5 separate regions of the Homo sapiens genome follow, and all the other regions are linked to region 4. The links are contacts of gene promoters, found by promoter capture Hi-C in blood cells and fetal thymus (Javierre and others, 2016). All regions are on one chromosome and are shown on one strand. The core of a region is centred on a gene start or on the middle of the fragment in contact, and the rest is flanking DNA. Distances in the headings are between cores, read along the strand shown. Region 1 overlaps RNF220 (ring finger protein 220). Region 2 overlaps RNF220 (ring finger protein 220). Region 3 overlaps RNF220 (ring finger protein 220). Region 4 holds the start of DMAP1 (DNA methyltransferase 1 associated protein 1). Region 5 overlaps RNF220 (ring finger protein 220).

Region 1 (2,700 bases), core at 32-2,531, 370 kb before region 4:
TGCTGAGAACATTAGGCCCATTTTCTATTGTCATGGTGGGAAAAGGGGAAAAAAGCACAGCATCTGGAGTTGGAGGCCCAAGGTTCAAAATCCCAGCTTCATTATGTAATAGCAACAGGAATTTGAGTAAGTTTCTTCATCTTTTTGAGATTCAGTTTCTTTATCCTAACACTAGATGAAGGGACAACCTTCTCCATGGAACAATTTCTTCTTTCTTTCTTTCTTTTTCTTTTCTTTTCTTTCTTTCTTTCTTTTCTTTCTTTTTTTTTTTTTTTTTTTTTTTTTTTGTGAGACAGGGTCTTGCTCTGTTGCCCTGGCTGGAGTGCAGTGGCATGACATGGCTCACTGCAACCTCTGCCTCCTAGGCTCAAGTGATCCTCTCACCTTAGCCTCCCAGTAGCTGGGACTACAGATGCACGCCACCACACCTGGCTAATTTTTTGGTATTTTTTATAGAGATGGATTCTCACCATGTTGCCCAGGCTGGTCTCAAACTCCTGGACTCAAGCAATCTACCCACCTCAGCCTCCCGAAGGCTTGAGCCACCATGCCTGGCCTGGAACAACTTCTTCAGGACATGGTCCAAAGATAGGTCAGGACCTCAGTGGGGACTTACTTAAGCAGAGGAGGTCAGCAGAAGTCACAGTATGAGGAGAGGAGCAGAAAGAATAAACAATATCCACAAATAGCTGGTTGTCTCGGATGAGTGTCCAGAACCAACTGTCCCAAAGTCCTAGCAAATAGCTTCAAGTACACAGTTTTCCCCATTCTTGCCCTTAGACAAACAGGCTCACATGTAAGAGGCTGCTTGCCCCAGTGATGGAGCCACCCTGTTCTTAGGCCCCACAGCGCCAGAACTCAAGAGTCAAAGCTCAGACTGGGGGTCCAAGTCTAGGGAGAGATTAAGATGCAGCACACTAGCACTTAGTAAAGCAACTAGTGTTGATTTCCATCAAGCCTCCCTGTCCTTTCTTTGCTCAGACTCCTCGGTAGTCTGGGTCTGAGTCTTGGTCCTACTGCTCAGTGACTGTGTGGTCTTGGTCAAGTTACTTAAGCCCCTCTGCCTGCTTCTTCATTTGAAATATGCAGTTAGTCTACCCATCTCTTGGTTGTTATGAAGATTGCATGATTTTCTTTCTTTCTTTTTCTTTTTTTTTTTTCTGAGACAGAGTCTCGATCTGTCACCCAGACTGGAGTGCAGTGGCGTGATCTCGGCTCACTACAACCACTGCCTCCTGGGTTCAAGTGATTCCCCTCCCTCAGCCTCCCGAGTAGCTGGGATTACAGGCGCCTGCCTGTAATTTTTTTGTATTTTTAGTAGAGTTGGGGTTTCGCTGTATTAGCCAGGATGGTCTCAATCTCCTGACCTCGTGATCCACCCGCCTCGGCCTCCCAAAGTGCTGGGATTACAGGCGTGAGCCACCGCACCCGGCCTGAGGATTGCATGATTTTCTGTGTGGAAAACAGAATAAAGAATGTTGGGCACACTGTGAGCACTCAATAAATATTAGCTACTGTTATTATCCCACTCTCAGGATATTTGTGAAGATCAAGGATGCTAAACCATAGGCAGGTGTCATTCTTGGCAAACTATCAGGGTCTGTGGTCTGTGGGAGTGATTAGAGTTGTTGATCAGTGTCTCTTCTCCCAAACTGGACATTGTCCTCCAGGTGGATCTACCGCTACCTGACAAGTGCAGAGTGGAACAGAACTCTCTATCCCCTGAAGTGTTCTGGGATCCAAATAATAGTAGATGCATGGGGGCCCATAGCACTTGCCGACTTCTTTCTTCTAAATTTACTATCAAATAACCCCCAGAGCTTCTCTTCAGCTTAGCCTTCCTTCCCTTGGCATGGACTCAAATTGAAATACTTATCCCACTGGCCAGGCGCGGTAGCTCATGCCTGTAATCCCAGCACTTTGGGAGGATCACTTGAGGCCAGAGTTCAAGACCAGCCTGGCCAACATGGTGAAACCCCATCTCTACTAGAAATACAAAAAATGAGCTGGGCATGGTGGCCCACGCCTGTAATCCCAGCTACTTGGGAGGCTGAGGTCAGAGAACTGCTTGAACCCGGCAGGTGGAGGTTGCAGAGAGCCAAGATTGCACCACTGCACTCCAGGCTGGGAGACAGAGCACGACTCTGTCTCAACAAAAAAAAAAAAAAAAAAAGGAAAGAAAGAAAGAAAGAAAGAAAATCCCAGTTGCATTCATCTGGTTGGAAGATTCTACCCATCATCTGAGCCACTTTGGGAGGCTGAGGTGGGAGGGTTGTTTGAGCCCAGGAATTCAAGACCAGCCTGGACAACATGGTGAGGCCCTGTCTCTACAAAAAATCTAAAAATTAGCTGGGACTGGAGGCTGAGGTAAGAGGATCACTTGAGCCCAGAAGGTCAAGGCTGCAGTGAGCTGTGATCATGCCATTGCACTCCAGCCTGGGGGATAGGGTGAGACCCTTTCTCAAAAAAAAAAAAAAAAGGCATTTGACACGCCCAACTAATTTTTGTATTTTTAGTAGAGATGGGGTTTCACCATGTTGGCCAGGTGGGTCTCAAACTCCTGACCTCAAGTGATCCACCCGCCTCGGCCTCCCACAGTGCTGGGATTATAGGCGTGAGCCATTGTCCCCAGTATTTTACCACGCTGTTTATTTCCTTTGTGGTACTGATCACTCCCTTAAGTATCTTGTATCTTTTCAT
Region 2 (2,700 bases), core at 139-2,638, 340 kb before region 4:
CAGAGTGCTGACTTCATTGCGGGTTTGCTCTTCACTTATCTGTTCAGGGCCTTAAATCATTCCCAGGAAAAAGCTTAGCACAGGGAAACCTGGCATCCTGGCTATTGGCTGCTCCTGTCAGCACCTGCCCTGCTAGGGCCGAGGGGAAGCCCTGCTTCCACAGAACAGCGTGGCAGTGTGAATAAAACTCCTGGGATACCCAAGCATCTGGAAGGCTGAGGACTGGGGCTGGGGGATGTTGGAGCCATCACCACTGAAGGAAGTTCTGGAGGCAAGGTGGAAAGGGCAGGGGAGTAGGGGAGAACTAGAAAGCAAGTGAGGTTCTGGAGCGAGAAGGCAAGTTTAATGAGCACTTACTATGTGTTGCGCATTGGGCTAGGCGCTAGGGACAAAACACTGAACAAAACTATCATTGTCTCTGCCCTCACGGAGTTGCCTTCTAACAGGAAAGGAACACATTACACAAACAATTGCCTAAACAACAGCTGTGAGGGAAAGAACTGGCTTTATGGGAATGCATCATGGGGGCTGGAGAAAGCTTCCCTTAGGAAACGAACTTTAAGCTAAGGTCTGAAAAAGTTGGGTTGAGACAGGTGACAGGTAACCTAGAAGAGACCAAAACAGTCCAATAACTGATCTCTTTCACCGGGGCTATAACATGTCATGTTGATTGCTATATGTTGAGATCATGTAAGGTGGTGGCAAAAAACACAGGCTTTGGAGTAAGACACACCTAGGTCTGAATTCTAGCTCCGTAAACTTTCTAGCTGCGTGATCTTGGGGGAGGTTGTTTAACCTCTCTGCTTCATTTATCATTTATCAAATGGAGTAAAAATACTCACCTTGCAGGGCTGTTGTAAGGATTAAAGTTGATACTCAATATAAAGGATGTATATAAAGCACCTGGCATATAGGACATGTTTAATATGCAGTAGATGCTACCACTAATGGTACTATCATATGTGTCTATTTCTTCCCCAAGCCTACTAGGAGGTCTTTGAAGGTTTAGACAAAGTCTTACACATTTTATATCTGATTGAATTAGACAGGGAGCAGTGGAAAAGATTCTGATATTTCACCTGGTGCCAGAAAAGAGCCCTAGGCATCCAGCCAAAGGTATGGCCCTTGGTGTGCATACGCATATACAGTGGGGGCTGGGCCATAGATGTTATTCTCTATTCTCCAGCATCCTTTTGGATTTAGTTGGCAGGATGATTTCAGGGCAAAAGGGTACAGACTCAATTAAATGTGGGCAAGTGCAAGGCAATGCCTTTTGTGATGAACACATCAAAACCCCCTCTCCAGTGCTCAACTCTGCATGGTCAGCCACGGTTCTGGCAAAGGACCTAGAAATCCTTCTTCATTTAGACAGTTCCCTGAGGCTGTTGGCCAAAAGGCTAAGAGAACTGTGAATAAGATGTGACGGAAGAAGGAGAACATGTTCCTTGAGGTGCCCAGCTGGAACAGTCCTACCCGCAGGGCTCAGCCGTGGCACTCTGTCCCACCCTGGAGAAGACGCAGGGCATGCAAAAGCTCCTCAGTGGGGAAGGGTCGATGACTCACCACCCAGTCTGGAAGTGAGAAGGCTGGTGGGGGATGTGAAGGAAATCACAAATCACAAATGGTGTAGAGAAGGTGACTAGAAACTTATTCACAAGATCCTGAAACTGTAGGCAAAGTGGGTTTGCTTTGAAACTCGAACACATTTGGGATGAATAAAGGTGATTTTATACCGTGGCCAGTGAACTTAAGAAATTCATTCTCCCAAATGGTGGGTCTAGCAGAAAACATAAATGAATTTAAACATCTTTGGACAAATTTATGAGACACAGTCATGTACATCCCTTAATCAGTTTGTTCAGTGAATGAATGAATGAATGAACGAGTGAATATGGATGATCCTAGTTTTCAAGGTATTTCAGTTCAGAGTGCCTACTATGAGCAAAGCATTGTGCAAGATGTAAAAATGAACAGTTTCGCTCTCCTTCCTTCCTTCCTTCTTTCCCTCCCTCTCTCCCTCCCTCCCTCCTTCCTTCCTTCCTCTCTCTCTTTCTTTCCTTCTCTTTCTTTTTCTTCCTTTTTTCCTTTTTGACAGGGTCTCACTATGTTGCCCAGAACTGGTCTAGAAAGAATACCTAGGCTCAATCGATGCTCCCATCTCAGACTCCCAAAGTGCTGGGATTACAGGTGTGAGTCACCTCGCCCAGCCAACACAAACAGTTTCTATCAAGAAGCTTATATATATATATATAAAATATATATTATATATTAATATATACATATGTATATATATTATATATACATACGTATATAAAATATATATACATATATACATATACATACATATATACACATATATATGTATGTGGATTGAGAAAGAAGCTCCTTCAACTCAGCCCCTAGAGAGATGCAGAATGAGGGCCCAGGGTCCCCTATTAGCGGAGGGATTGTTTCAGCCATTTCGGGCACCCTGGGGTTCTCACTGGGCAAAGACATTCAGCTCAGTGATATAGTGAGCACCATGGGTTCCCCTCCCTGTCTAGCAACATCTGTAAAGAGGAGAACTTTGCTTAAAAATGAACAGGAAGAGGCCGGGCGCGGTGGCTTACGCCTGTAATCCCAGAACTTTGGGAGGCCGAGGCTGGTGGATCACAAGGTCAGGAGATTGAGACCATCCTGGCTAACACAGTGAAACCCCGT
Region 3 (2,700 bases), core at 42-2,541, 420 kb before region 4:
TTTGAACTCCCCTCAGGAATTCTTGAAAGGAACAACCTCACAGTGTAAACACTCAGGGAAAACGGATACCCGCCCGGGGCCTAAGAGCCCCTCACACTGCTGTGCAAGTGCATCCCGGCACAGGGGAAATACTCTTGTCAAATCAGCAGGCCCTTTGCAGCTTTATCCTCCATAAGCCCTGTCTGGTGCCCAGAAGCCATCAGGTCCAGGTCTGTGCCAAGGAACCTAAGAAGGTGCCACAGCAATGGAGGATGTGAGCAGTTGCAGCTGCCAACAGAGCTAACCAGAGCAGCACGTTGAAACTGACCCTGTGTGGCTGCCATCGGACACCCATGTGTCCAACTCATGGGACAGTCGTCAGCCCTGCTGCTCACTCTTCTAGGGCCTCAGATACTCGAAGGCTCCAGTACGGGATGAGTGAAATGGCAAACTAACACTCTCCAGCTCCGGCTCAGGGAGACTGTTTGGTCTGACTAACCTTCCTGATTTATGTTTTGGCTTGCCCCCAAACACCTGGGTAATGTGAGAGACGCCCAGAGGCATAATGTCTCATCTGGGCTCTTAGCCCCTTCGTGGAACCAGTCTGCACTGGACGGCCCTGCAGAGACCACTCCTCAGCATCTGCCCAGGTAGCACGGCCCCACGAAGGCAGAGAACTTCTTCCCAGCTGCTGTGAGATTCCCCAGGGACCATACACAGCAGTATTCCCAAAGGTGTTGCCCAGAGAGAGAGGCAGACGGGAAGCAGATTGGCTCACTTAATGACCACAAGCTGCAGTACCAGCTGTGCTTGTGCACAGAAAGAGAGAAGAGCTGGAGGCCAAGAGGCAGACAGCTCCCCTTTTCCCCTGCCCAAGGCTGGGGAGTTTAACAAGTCACTAACCCTGGGCACCCAACCAATTCTGCTGTCTGACCTGGTGGGGGGTGTCAAGCCTTGCTCTTCCAAGGAGCTGGGAGGGCACTGGAGATGGGCAGGGCCCTGCACACTCCTTTGTAGCAACTGGGGAGAGCCCAAGGGAAGGAGGGAGCAGCTGGGCCCAGGCCCCTCTTGCTTCAGGGCAGAGGGCGCCCAGGGAGAAGGGATGGGATCAGAGCTAAAATTAGATTCACCAATGAAGCTCATGGGAGGTCAAATTTTGCCATAACTCACTCTCCTCTGTAACTGATTTCCCTGACATAGGGCTGAAGAGGAGGAGGAGGAAAATCCAATGTGTTTGCCTGGAAGCCCTCAGGGCCCCCAGTGCTGGAGGTGTACAGCAGGTTGCTGGATTCTCATTTATCAGCCTTAAGAGGGATGGAGTGATAAATGCATAACCGTCCCTTTAATATTTTATGCAGGTGCTAACGCGGCTTGGCTGTCACCTTCAATGCATCACCCGAAGCTGAGAGCCCCCCTTCGTCACTCCTAGCTTGCAGCCTCACAATTCCATTTCCCCACCCAAATACATCCATTTTAATATGCACATCACAGGCAGGCAGCACGGTCACAAAGGAGCCCCACCAGCAGCAGTCCCCACGTGGTGGAACGGATGGATGACCAGCCACCAGCCTCGGCCTCTTGGCTTCCAGCAGATGGATACCCAGCAGAGGCCTGGCACCAGAGTGCCAATGTCTACGTGTCAGCTGCTTGTACCTCGGAAGCCACCTTCCAGGAGAGTGGTGGCCCGTATCCGCTTCTGTCCACACCACTCATACTCCTCAAAGCGGTTGTTGTTCTCATGCTCGATGTCCACAGCATCATCCTCAGCCATGCAGGAGCCTTCCCTCTGTGAAGAGCAGAGCAGGATCATGCTGGGCCCAGGCCATCCCCACCTGCTCCCCACAGTCTGCAACGAAGGCACAGCTCTAGCCCCAGCTGTGGTGTGCCAAGTGGGCCCTCAGCTCTAGGGCTCCTTTGAAGCAAACCAATTTAGAGGTCAAAGACCTGGGCCTCTTCCCAATAGTTTTCCGCTGGAGCCCAAGGAGGGAATGAGTGAGAGTGAAAGCAAAAGGAGAGAGCAGTGGTCAGAAGGGAAGAAGCTGCTGAGACCACATGGAGACCCCAAGAGCCCACAGATTCAGGGGCAGTCAGCAGCTAGTGTCGGGGGAAGGGAGCGGGGAAGGAAGGTGGGTGGTGATGGCCCCTCTACCTTAGAAAGGCAATGCTCCACATGCCTACTCATCTCCTGCTCCGATCCTGCCAGGGGGCGGTTGCACAGGGGACATACCTGCCCTTCATCTTGCTTCCTCCGTTTCATTTTCCCAATCCGAGCTGCACGGGGAAACCGAAAACAAAGCACAGAACAAGCAGACGGTCACTGCAGCCCCCAGGGTCCCAGTGGAGCTGACACATCCTGACCTCTTGCCAGCCATTGGCCTTTTTATTCAGTGCCTGATCTGGCCCTCATCTTGAAATACCTCCTGCTCCTTTGGGGACTGGGCTTTGCCAAGAGCACCTGGGGAGGAGACTGGTGCTAACTAAGCCAGTGAGTAAGTCCACTCTTTGGCTGCAGCTGGTGCAAGGTCTACCCATACCTTTCTATTTGCAGTGTTTAATAAAAATCCAGTGAGCAAAGACACTCCATGTTGCTAGGTATCTCTCCAGAAGGCCAAGACCATGAACTCTTTTGGTGTCAGGAAATACAACTCTAAAGAGCATCTCTTGACTAGAACCTAACCCCTCCGATGGCCTGACTTGGCCTGCTGTTCACTCATCAGCTAA
Region 4 (2,700 bases), core at 175-2,674:
TTGAACCTGGCAAAGGGGTAGTCCTTGCCCTCCTCCGCTGCACGTCGCCAGTGGAAGAACATTGCTCCGTCCTTGCGGGCCGGGTTGGTGAATGGCATCCACTTCCAAGGCCGCACCTTCTTGGAGCCCAACTTGGCCTTCACTGTACGGTATCCCTGGCCAGTGTCACTGGGTAGCAGTGGGGGTGCATCCCTGGCAGGGAGGTTTAGGGAGATGCGAGGTTAGAATCAGAAGGTGTGTTAAAGAGCTTTTTGTCCCAGGGAGCTGATCTACCCTACCCTATAGCAAGAAAGTCATGTCCTGGAGCAAAAGACTTCAGGTCCTCCTGCATCCTGCTAAGCAAGCAGGAGCCCTTGCTGGGGAGGAGAAAATTGTTAGAGAAAACTAGGAGTTAGGGGCATGGCAGGTGAATCAGGGGCCAAAACCTGGGGGACTTGGGACTCCAATACTTGCTTCTTGTCAGAGTAGAGCAAGGCATAGACTTCCCGGTGCATGCCCTCGGGCCTCTTGAAAGTCAGTGTCTCAGAGGACTTCTTGGATTTTTTCTGAGGAAGGAAACCACAGAAAGGAACCACAACCTAGACCCTTTCCTGAAAATTCTTTAGTCCAGCTCAATCCCTGAACAAAGCAGCACCTACAGGGTCAATGACAGGCAAACTGACACACTGTAAAGGCACAGAAACCCACTCCCAGGAACACCATCCTACGCCCAAATCAGAGCAGTCCCCTCCCCATCCCACCAACTCTCAGACTGTTACAATGTCTTGATCTCTCCCCAACAATATCTTGCAAAAATCACACTTGCCTGGTCCTCTCAGCTCTTAGAGGTGTCATACCCTCTTGGTCCCACCATCTCCCACGATGTCCCATCTCCTCCCTCCCATCAAGGATGACACATATTCCCTGTCCTGTTATGTCACCCCTTTTATCGCCCAACTCACTGTAAGTGTAGCACCCATCCCTTGCCCGTTGTCACTCCTCCCCATCTTCACTCCCCTACCCTCCCCTAGTCAACGCTTTCAGGTGCCCCTGCTACCTTGTCCGGGTTGATAATGTCCTTCTTGCTGATGGTCCCAGAGGCTGCATCCCCTTCTGGACCCCCGAGTTCTAGAATGTCCCGTACATCCGCGCCCGTAGCCATCGCGCCTGAGAGATGGGGGAGCCACCGGAGGTCAAGGGTCAGTGCCTGAAGAAGGACCAGGCTCAGGTCAGGGGGCGGGGCCAATCCAGACCTAAGCGGAGGCGAGTTGAAGGGGCGGGCCAAGAGGAGAAGGGTGGTCCAGGTCAGGTCGGGGATCTGCCTGTGCCCCACCGCTTGGATGTTCCTAACGGCCCCTTCAGCCACCTGGGCCCTCGCACTTCCGCACCTGGGTCCGGCAGCTGCAGCCCCCACTACCACTCCCCCGTCCCCGCAAAGCCGCGGCAGAAACTTCCGGCGGTGCTCATTCGGAACGCGGCCGACAGAAACACTTCCGGTCGGTGTTGTAGGAAACGAAGCCGACTGGCAACCGAGGGTGAAAGCTACTGGCCGTGCTGAGCTTGCCACCCTTTGGTTCTCCCGCGAGCCTGTTTTCATTGGTGCACTGCCTGCTTTCTGGCATTTTCCCTCTACGATGCTCCGTTGCGTCTCAGGCAGTGAAGAGATACCAGAACTTTGTGACTTTGGGAAGTCACTTAATTTCTCTGGACCTTTTTCTTTATTTGCCGAATGGAAATTGTAATGGCACCTGTGTAAATGAAATACCAAGAATCCTTGTAAAACATTAGCACGGTGCGTGGGACATTTACTATTTTTTTATTAAATGAGTTAATGATTTGAATTGCCCCCTCTTCATTAAGTGCTAATATGTACTAGGCACTGTGCTAAGCTTGGAGGTGAAGAGATAAACTTCAAATTGTGATAAGCTTGAAGATGAAGAAATAAAGGCAGAGCTTCCTAGGGCGGCTGCCAAAATGGAGTAAGGTGTGGGCCCTCATTTGCACCTCCTCTGATGGAGATAGCTGTGGGTTGTGGCCTCGTGGGGATTTCCTGGAGGCCAGCTTCGTGGCACTTCACTAGTACAGGAGCTAGCTGCACTCTTTGGGCTACGAAGAAGCCCAAAACACAGCCCCAAGCAGGAACCAGCTTAGAAGTATCCCTCAAGGGAATAAACCTGGGGATCTTCCTGGAAAGAGAGAGACAGGAGGTCCTGAGGAAGGGCACAAGGGACAAGGAAAGCAGCTCCCAGCTTCAGCAGTCTGCAAACCAGCCTGTCAATTTGAAGGACACATAGCCTGTGGGATAGGGTGGGGCTTGTTAAGGCATTAAGAAGGCCAGACCCCAAGTCGAGACCTGCCAAAGATACCAGCAGGGACTAGAGGAGCAGACAGTTTGCGCAAGTTAGCTATAAGTGGTGTAGCCTGTTCTGGCCTGGAGAAGACAAGGGGATACAACAGCTGTAGCCACAAGCCTGACTAGTCCCCAAAACTTTGGAGAACTAGGCCTGGAGGTACAAACCTGTTCCTGGGTCTGATTCCTGGATGGATCCACTGAGCTCCAAACAGTTGCCGGAGGAAGTCACAGTCTTACAGCAGAAATTGTCCACAGGGTAAGGAAATGGTCCTTGGAGCCAGAAAGGGAGAGAGCAATTGGCTGCCTGAAACACTTGACCCTAGTTGTAGTTAATTAATTGTGTAATTACTTGTTTAATATATATCTCT
Region 5 (2,700 bases), core at 27-2,526, 400 kb before region 4:
TTATTATCACTGGTATAGTCTTATATGCCCATGGATTCTTTCATACTCCTCCCTTCAATGGGTAGAGCTTCTAGAGCTTAATTCTTCTCCCTTGAGAATGAGCTGGACTTGACAACTTGCTCCTAGTGAACAGAATAGAATAGAATAGAGTAGAAGCAACAGTGTGTGACTTCCCAGACTAGATCATAAGAAGCACTGTGGCACCCTCCTTAGTCTTCTCTTGGACTGCATGCTCTGTGGGAAGTCAGCTGCCATGTCATAGGGAAATTCAAGCTGTCCTATGCAGAGACCCACATGTGGGGGAACTGAGGCCTCCTGCCAACAGCCATGTGAGTGAGCATCTTGGAAGCAGATCCTGCAGTCCCAGTCAGATCTTCAGATGACCGTTGCCTTGGTTGACATCTTGACTGCAGCTTCATGAGAGACTCCCAGCCAGTAGCCACTACTACCCACAACCATCCAGCTAAGCTGTTCCTGAATTGATGACCACAGAAACTGAGATAATACATGTATGTTGTTTTAGCTGCTAGGTTTTAGGGTAGTTTGTAACACAGCGATAGATGACTAAATATTTCTTCCTTCAAAATTCAGCTCAGGCCTTACCTTCTGAGGAAGCCTTCTTTGCTCTGTGCTGGGTTTGGTGCCTCCTTGATACCCCCAAGCTCCAGTTCTTCCCGTATAGCAGTCTCCATCCCTCTGGGTTTGTACTGCCTGACCCTCCCTACCCTCATGCTATGAACTTCCAAGGGCAGGGACCATTCTGATTCACTATGGGATCCCCTGCACCTTGCATGGGGATTCGGTAAGAAGGTAGAAGGAAGGAGGATCAGTCAAGTCTGATGACTTGAACTGAATAAGGGTCGGACTGGGAGGAGCGGGGCAGACCGTCCCTCAGTAGCAGATTATATTTTCCAAAGACAGCATCAACCATATCTTCCATCCCACATACGTTTCTACAATTTGACCTTGCCAGTCCTCCCATCAAAAGGGGGGTGTATGTCCTCTCCCCTTGAATTCTGGGTGGTCTAATACTGCCTCAATCAATAGAATACAGTGGAAGTGAGATTCAGTGACTTTCAGGCTAGGTTATAAAAGGTGATCCAGCTTCCATCTCGTTGGCTGGAACATTTGCTTTTGGAGCCCAAAGCTGCCATGCAAGAAGTCCAACCATCCCGAGGTTGGCAAGCTATGAGGAAGCCCAGGCCACATGGAGAAGCCCTGTGTAGGTGCTTTGATTCCAGCCTCAGCTGAGGTCCCAGCTGACAGCCAGCATCAACCCCCAGACATGTGAGGGAAGCAGCCTTCACATGACCCAGCTCCCAGCCACCAAGTCTTCCCAGCTAAGGCCCCAGACATCATGGAGCAGACATCAGCCATCTCCTCTGTGCCTTATCTGAATTCCTGACCTCACAGATTCCACGAGCACAATGAAATGGTTGCTTTAAACTGCTAAGATTTTAGGTAATTTGTCACACCTCTCCTCTACTCTTTTTGATAACCTGGCTCCTCCACCAGGCCCTTGAGGAGGCTCAGCCCAGTCCTTCAGGCAGGGACAAGGGAGGGAGGCTGGGGGTGAGGTGGGGTGGGACAGTGGGGGACACACCTGAGCACATTCTTAAGATTGTCATCTTTCAGACACTGAGATTCATAGAGAAGGTAGTGTCCACCCCACTGGAGGAAGGACTTGGCTGCACTTCTGAGGGGCCTGCCAGGCCTAGGACCTGCTGCTTTTATTCTGCTCTGAGGCTCAACATGGCAGTGCTGGGCCTTTGGCAGTGGCTCACCCCTGTCTAGCTCCTCTCATGTTTTCCTTTGAGGCTGGGGCCTGCGGGGTCACTCTCCTCCCATCTCCAAAAATAGAGCAAGAAGAGGAAGGTGGCTCCATTCAGCGGAAAGATCTGAGGATTGAAACAGAGTTGTGGAGAAGGGTGGCAGGGTCCTGTCTTTTCCCGAGGGGCTGGGGTATGGGCCAGGCGGCTGCTTCTGGGATCCGGTGGCCAGAACCCTGAGTGGACTCCTCCAGCAGGCAGGCTCCCTGGGAGGTGGCTTACCTCGAGGGCAGTTGGGCTAGCTGCTCCAGTTCCTGCTCCATATGCTCCTGCAGCTCACTGGGCCTCAGCAGGACCTGGCAGATGGGGCAAATTGGGGCCTGGCTGTCGAACAATGCCGCTGCTTTCTTCTTACCTAGTGAGGGGAGAAGAACAGACAGACGCGTAAGCTGGGCTAGTCCAGGAGGCAGACCCAGCATCCCAGTCCTGAAACCCAAGCCTGCTGCTGCCCTCTAGGGCTTCTTGGCCTAGAGGAGGGGCCTGAGGGTTTCAGAGCCCACGAGCACCCCTCCTCCTTGCAGCTCCAGAGGCTGTGGCCATGAATGGTACCTCCTCAGCCAGCCACCCCTCTCAGAAATCTATTAGGACACATCCCCCATGGGATGTCTATTTTTTTTTCTTTTTTAAATTAATTAATTAATTTGAGACAGAGTCTTGCTCTGTTGCCCAGGCTGGAGTACAGTAGCGTGATCTTGGCTCACTGCAACCTCTGCCTCCTGGGTTCAAGTGGTTCTCCTGCCTCAGCCTCCTGAGTAGTTGGGATTACAGGCATGTGCCACCACACTTGGCTAATTTTTGTATTTTTTGTAGAGATGGGATTTCATCTTGTTGGTCAGGCTGGTCTCAAACTCCTGGCCTCAAGTCATCTGCC

The links. Contacts are between HindIII fragments. The CHiCAGO score rates a contact against its expected background, and 5 or more counts as called.
Region 1: a contact is called between a fragment that was not itself captured here and the fragment with the promoter of DMAP1 in region 4, in 5 of 17 cell types (endothelial precursors, megakaryocytes, M1 macrophages and 2 more). The highest score is 10.5, in endothelial precursors.
Region 2: a fragment that was not itself captured here is called in contact with the fragment with the promoter of DMAP1 in region 4 in 3 of 17 cell types (endothelial precursors, megakaryocytes and erythroblasts); the score reaches 9.4 in endothelial precursors.
Region 3: a fragment that was not itself captured here is called in contact with the fragment with the promoter of DMAP1 in region 4 in 11 of 17 cell types (endothelial precursors, neutrophils, fetal thymus and 8 more); the score reaches 10.7 in endothelial precursors.
Region 5: a fragment that was not itself captured here is called in contact with the fragment with the promoter of DMAP1 in region 4 in 2 of 17 cell types (endothelial precursors and neutrophils); the score reaches 6.7 in endothelial precursors.

What each region holds. Positions count from the first base shown.
Region 1 is chr1:44,577,618-44,580,317 of GRCh38, reverse strand. The region is part of intron 2 of RNF220 (ring finger protein 220); the gene reads right to left. Among named protein-coding and RNA genes, the nearest start is that of MIR5584, 33 kb to the right of the region's middle. The HindIII fragment of the contact is 6,321 bases long and covers 1-2,700 here.
Region 2 is chr1:44,556,748-44,559,447 of GRCh38, reverse strand. All of the region lies in intron 2 of RNF220 (ring finger protein 220), which reads right to left. Among named protein-coding and RNA genes, the nearest start is that of MIR5584, 13 kb to the right of the region's middle. The HindIII fragment of the contact is 1,696 bases long and covers 541-2,236 here.
Region 3 is chr1:44,635,095-44,637,794 of GRCh38, reverse strand. It overlaps RNF220 (ring finger protein 220), which reads right to left. Exons shown (of 15, transcript NM_018150.4): 7 at 2,207-2,250; 8 at 1,633-1,765. It overlaps LOC107984950 (a long non-coding RNA gene), which reads left to right. Exons shown (of 2, transcript XR_001738031.2): 2 at 1,338-2,557. Among named protein-coding and RNA genes, the nearest start is that of SNORD145, 35 kb to the left of the region's middle. The HindIII fragment of the contact is 4,145 bases long and covers 1-2,700 here.
Region 4 is chr1:44,212,195-44,214,894 of GRCh38, reverse strand. DMAP1 (DNA methyltransferase 1 associated protein 1) reads right to left here and starts at 1,424. Exons shown (of 10, transcript NM_019100.5): 1 at 1,037-1,424; 2 at 454-545; 3 at 1-192. The coding sequence starts at 1,141. RefSeq lists enhancers at 1-78, 79-580, 1,346-1,585, 1,324-1,618 and a silencer at 2,016-2,115. The HindIII fragment of the contact is 5,612 bases long and covers 1-1,870 here.
Region 5 is chr1:44,613,649-44,616,348 of GRCh38, reverse strand. It overlaps RNF220 (ring finger protein 220), which reads right to left. Exons shown (of 15, transcript NM_018150.4): 3 at 2,052-2,184. Among named protein-coding and RNA genes, the nearest start is that of SNORD145, 56 kb to the left of the region's middle. The HindIII fragment of the contact is 7,670 bases long and covers 1-2,700 here.